Regions from separate parts of the Homo sapiens genome. Here region 1 is linked to region 2. The links are contacts of gene promoters, found by promoter capture Hi-C in blood cells and fetal thymus (Javierre and others, 2016). All regions are on one chromosome and are shown on one strand. Each heading gives the region's core, a stretch centred on a gene start or on the middle of the fragment in contact. The rest is flanking DNA. Distances are from core to core; before and after follow the strand shown.

Region 1 (2,700 bases), core at 103-2,602, 110 kb before region 2:
ATTGAGACCAGCCCCCATTTCAGAGGACTCAGGGAGGGAGCTTTGTCCTTGTCCTTTGGGCTCCCAGCCTGATGGGGATCCTGGGGACCCACACCCAGGACCAGCTAGGTTTCCTCTCTGCCTGCAGTCTTCTGGGAATGTCTGGGTCACCCATGAAGAGATGGAAACTCTGGAAACATCTACTAAAACAGTGAGTCTGGCCCTTGGCCTTTGTCCCTGGGCCTGGGGTTGGGACTGATACTCCCATGAGGATGAGGGGAAGGCTGTGGGCAGTCAGAGTGGGCTGCCATCGATCTCACGTGAGGTTGGTATCCCTGAGGTGTGATCTGCTGTCACGGTGGAGGGTTGTCGGGAGAGGGGTGAGGCTGGGAGCGGAGCAGTTTGTATGTGTGTGATCCTTCCCAGGAGGTCACAAGCTTGCCCTGGGCCACTGGTGTGCTACAGCGGAGGAGAGTTGGGCTGGGGAGGGCTTTGCCCTGCTATGGACCTGAGCCACAGAGTCTCTGCCCTTGTGCTTCCTCCCTGGTGGAGGAATGGGGAGTGTTGGGAGAGCTGGGCATCTTGCCTGGCTCCCAGTCAAGCCTGGGAGGTGTGTGTTTTTGCCACACACACATTTGCCCCACCTCAACGCAAACATGGGTGCACACACCAACCTTGTGTTCTCTCTTAACCATCCTGACGAGCTTTCCCCAGTCACCCAGCCAGATACTGGGATGTCTTTTTCCTCTCCTTGATGGGGCCTAGGGTAGAGCTGATGGGTTTCTTGACTTTGCCTGTTTCCCCTAACACGCTGCACTCGTTCCTGCTAGGACAGTGAGGAGGGCAGCTGGGCTCAGGTAAGACTCCCTACCCTGTCTAGAACCAGCTCCCAAAACTTCAGGACAGTGTTCTTCTGGTAGGTTCTCTCCGCAGCAGGAATCTCTGAGTCCTTCATATGAAAAGCCCTGGACATAGGTTCTCTGCTCCCATCAGAGTGCCCCCCGCCCCCACCCAGTTCCCTCAAACTGCTTGTTCTGGTTTCTCAGGGTGGCAGGTGAGGAGCCCTGGAGGACTGTGGCCCCTGCATTCCTGGCCCTTCTCCTCAGTCTCATTCTTTTCCTGGGAATAATCAGACCTAGATTAGTATGAGTCTTCTTCCTCTCCCTGTCCCTCTCAGGGGCACCCTGGTGAACTGAGCGAAGGTCTTTCATCCATTTCATGAGCAAACGTTTATTGAGCAAATATAAGGATTAGGCCTTTCCTGGCTCTCTGGATATAGAAGTAAAGAAAGCAAGCCCTCATGGAGGCAGTAAACAAATAAAGGAATAATATCAGTAAACAAACCATGTCAATAGGGATAAAAAAGACAGTCTCGGCTGGGCGCGGTGGCTGACACCTGTAATCCCAGCACTTTGGGAGGCCGAGGCGGGCGGATCACGAGGTCAGGAGATCAAGACCATCCTGGCTAACACAGTGAAACCCCGTCTCTACTAAAAATACAAAAAAAAAATAGCCAGGCATGGTGGCGGGCGCCTGTAGTCCCAGCTACTCGTGAGGCTGAGGCAGGAGAATGGCGTGAACCTGGGAGGCGGAGCTTGCAGTGAGCCGAGATCACACCACTGCACTCCAGCCTGGGTGACAGAGCAAGACTCCGTCTCAAAAAAAAAAAAAAAAAAAAAAAAAAAGATAGTCTCAATAAGTAAACAAATAAAGGGACAATATTGGATAGTGATGCGAGCTGTGAAGAATGAAGCAGGGAGCAGCACTGTGTATATCTGCTCAGGGAAAACCCCACCAGCAGGAGACTGGCTGAATCATTCATGCCATAAAACACCCTTGGCAGAGGTGATGGGTCGGGGGGGATCCGAGCCATAGGGTGTGAAATGAAGAATGCAGATCCTAAAAGATGCATGGAATTTGATCCCAAAACTCAAAACCAAACAAAATTAATAATATGTTGTTTAGGGAAATATACATGGATGATTGTAAAAAGTGTAAAACAGTTTTTTACAACCAAAGGAATAGTCAGAAAACTCAGCATAGTGGTTCCCTTTTAGAGGGGCAGTAGGAGATGTGTGCTGACAGCGAGCATCAGTGTGCAAACAGTACAGTGTGGGTAATGCTCTGCTGCTTAGCTTGGTTGGTGTCCACTGTTGCTAACTTCATTTATATGCTTCATAATGGGCACATTACATATAGTCTTATATGTATCAGCTATTACATTGTAAAAGAGAACAAAATAGACTTTTTCTATCTGAAAACATCAAGTAAGGGTAAGGAAAGAGTGAGGTAGGGTCGCTATGAAAACTAAAGCTTTCTCAAGTTGGGTGGTCACGGAGCACCCTGCCCAGGTCAGGAGGCCACGTCCACATGGCACAGGCCCTGCAGGACCACACGGCAGGGTGTGCGTGGGAAAGCAACAGAGGACCTGGAGTGTTCTTGGAGCAGAGGCTCAGGCCTTAGAGAATGAGTGCTGCTGGCTATTCAGGCACAGGCCACCACCCTTTATTTTTTTCAGTCTTCTGCCAACATTTAACTTCCTTGCTTCCTCCATGAAGCCAGCCTTGTCCCGGAGTGAGACAGGCTTCCTTTGCCACGCTGCAGGTCCTCTGTAACACAGCCTCTCCCCTGGGCTCAGCGGGCTTGAGGCTCACTGAGAGTCAGGAAGGCACGTCTGCTGCACAATACCGCAAATGCAACCCAGAGTCAACAGGAAGGATT
Region 2 (2,700 bases), core at 100-2,599:
CCAGCCCCTGCAGAACTCACTGCAGACACGCGCAGGAGGAACTTGTCTCCCAGAGCCAGGTTCCGCACAGTCTGCTGGGTCACCATCATGGGCCGGGCACTCACAGGCACCCACTCCGAGGCTGAGGGGATGGAGAGAGTGTGAGGTCTTTGCAATGTGGCCACAGGCGCCCCTCTCCATGGGGCTTCTTTTCCTGCTGGTGATCTGGGGAAATCAGCCTCCCTCTCTGGGCCTCATTTTCCCCTTGTTTGCCTTCCCTGACTTCTTGTCAAATGGCATCAAAGACACCTGATGTTAGAGCCCTGAAATTGTGGCTAGAGATGAGGTTGTTGAAGCCCAGAGAGGGTTGGACACATTTGCAAAGTCACACAGCAAGGTAGGGGCAGAGGCAGAGGCCAGGCTGGACTTGGGCCATGGAGGGGGACAGTGGCAGCAGGGATGTGGCCCCCACACCCCCACCCCATTCCCGCTTTCTCCTCACTGTCTCTTACGCTAACATTCCCCTCTCCAGCTCCTCCCTTTCCACTTCCTACAGTTCGGGGTCCTCTGAGACTTAGCACTTCCTTCCCTTCTCACCAAAGGAGAACCCAGTGTCCCCTTACCCTTCCCTTACTCAGAAGCTCCTTGGAGCTGAGGACAAGGGAGCCCCTCAACCCACCCACCTACCCTTTCTTGCTCTCCTGCTGGTGGAGCAAGAAAGGGCAGGTGGGTGGGTTGAGGAGCCTACTGCTCGCATCCCCTCCTTCTGTATCTCTCCCAGACTGACCAACCACAGGGCCTGTGCACTTGTCCCTGCAGCCCTCCATGACAACCTCCCCTGGGTGTATGCAAGACTTAGCCCAGCACTCACCTCCCTCTCTGCAGAGCTCCAGCACATAGCCCTGGAGGCCCAGCCTCCCCAGCCTCTCTGGGGGCTCCCAGCTCACAGTCACAGAGCTGCTGCTCACATCATCCAGGGTCAGCAGCAGTGGGGCACTGGGGACATCTGGGGAGATGAAGAGGTTCATGGCCAAGAGCTCCCCTCCACCCCTGACATGCCTGCCTCCCTCCTCCCCCTGCCCCACCTTCAGTCACCTTCACTTGGGGGTGCAGGCTTAGTGGCTGTGGAGGCTGTAGGGGCCTGTGGGGCAGGGGCCTGCGGCTTGGGCACCTGCTCTTCTCTGGTGGACTCTGATACTGCCACTTCTCCGGGAGGCTCTGCTGTGGGCACCTTGGCAGATTCAGATGCGGTCTCCTCTGGACTGCAGGCAGGGCCCTCGGAGGTGTTTTTTTCCATCATTGCTGGACTGGCTGGGGGGCCAGGGTGGAGTGTGCAGGGGTCAGCCGTTGGGGGGCCTGGGCCTCTAGGGTGCCTGGGACACCTAGGTCCAGGCTTATATAGTCAGGGGCTGCCCCACCCCCAGCAAACGATTCCCAGCTGTGGGGTCAGGTCAAGCAGGAGGACTGGAGGGTGGAGAGGCGCCCAGGCCAGGAATAGCTCTGGGGGAGGAACCACAAGGGCCCCTTGAGGAGTCACTTCCTCATCCATCTCCCCGACTGGCCTTCAACAGCCAGGGTGCTGGTGCCCAGCTGGGGGAGGGCGCAGATGGGTGAGATGGGACATCGAGCAGGCCGCGTGCCAGGTGTCAGGGCAATAGGAGGAAGAACTTCTATCTGGAGAATGAGCCCAGCTCAGGCTCTGTGTGTCTGGCGTCTATGGGGCCACTTGTTCCCAGAGCTTCTCAGACTGGGTGCTGGGGCCCTGACAGTTTGGGACAATCGTCCTTGTGAGCACTCCCAGCTTTGCCTCTGGGGTCCACATTCCCTGGGCTCCCACAGTTCCCAGGGACTCTCGCCTGTGCTGTATGAGGCTGAGGGCCCTAGAGAGGGAGGGAATTGAGATGCTGAGGGTGGAGCTGCTCAGAGGATGGTCCTCCAGCATTGGAACCCCAGGAAGGGGCACTAAGTCTCCTGGCTCCTGTCTCAGTTGGGCGGCTGGTAAGGAGCTCGTCTCCCCTGATGCCTGCTGTGGGCCTCAGTTTTCCACCTGTTACAGAGAACCCCTCGCCCTTCGGGATGGGTTGCAGTTGTAGGCAGATCTGGAAGATGCCCTAGTGGAGGAGAGCACTCTGAAGCTTCTAGACTCTTCCAAGCAGGCTGTGGGCATGGGCTTTCTCAGTGTGCCAAAGGAGGCAGATATGGCCAGATTTCTAGTCATTGATTCATTTGTTCGATAAAATGTTAAGACTGGGAATCACTGGAAAGCCAGAAAATGCCATGTGTCAGGAAGGAGGGAGAACATTAAGAACTTTTATTGCTGGTATTGGAGCAGTCACTCTGGAAAATGTGAGAGTTTTACTAGTGCCTAGTAAAATGGATGAGGTGCCTACTCCGTGACCCAGCCGTGCCGCTCATATAACACCCACACATGCCCCAGGAGACATGGAGAAGAAGGTTCATGGCAATGTTATTTGTAATTGTTGAAATGTGGGGGAAAACAGCTGTCCCTCAACAGTGGGATGGATAAATAACTGTGGAGTGTTTATGCAACTGTAAAGCAAAATATGGGGTCAAATGAGCAACTTCAGCTACTCACAGACCCAGTGATGAGCAGAAGAGCAAGGCACACAGAAATGTTGCGTCTCATCTGTCTCATCTACATTAAATCCAAATGCAGTCAACACCAGGCTCCCTTCTTCAAGGTACATCCGTAGGCGGTAA

The links. The method cuts DNA at HindIII sites, captures the fragments that hold promoters and counts their contacts. A CHiCAGO score of 5 or more calls a contact.
Region 1: a fragment that was not itself captured here is called in contact with the fragment with the promoter of MYBPH in region 2 in 1 of 17 cell types (M0 macrophages); the score reaches 5.8 in M0 macrophages.

What each region holds. Positions count from the first base shown.
Region 1 is chr1:203,060,843-203,063,542 of GRCh38, forward strand. PPFIA4 (PPFI scaffold protein A4) reads left to right here. Exons shown (of 30, transcript NM_001304331.2): 23 at 128-190; 24 at 810-836. Among named protein-coding and RNA genes, the nearest start is that of MYOPARR, 22 kb to the right of the region's middle. RefSeq lists an enhancer at 167-751. The HindIII fragment of the contact is 1,876 bases long and covers 415-2,290 here.
Region 2 is chr1:203,174,477-203,177,176 of GRCh38, forward strand. MYBPH (myosin binding protein H) reads right to left here and starts at 1,350. Exons shown (of 11, transcript NM_004997.3): 1 at 1,075-1,350; 2 at 851-985; 3 at 1-121. The coding sequence starts at 1,279. RefSeq lists an enhancer at 1-14. The HindIII fragment of the contact is 10,255 bases long and covers 1-2,112 here.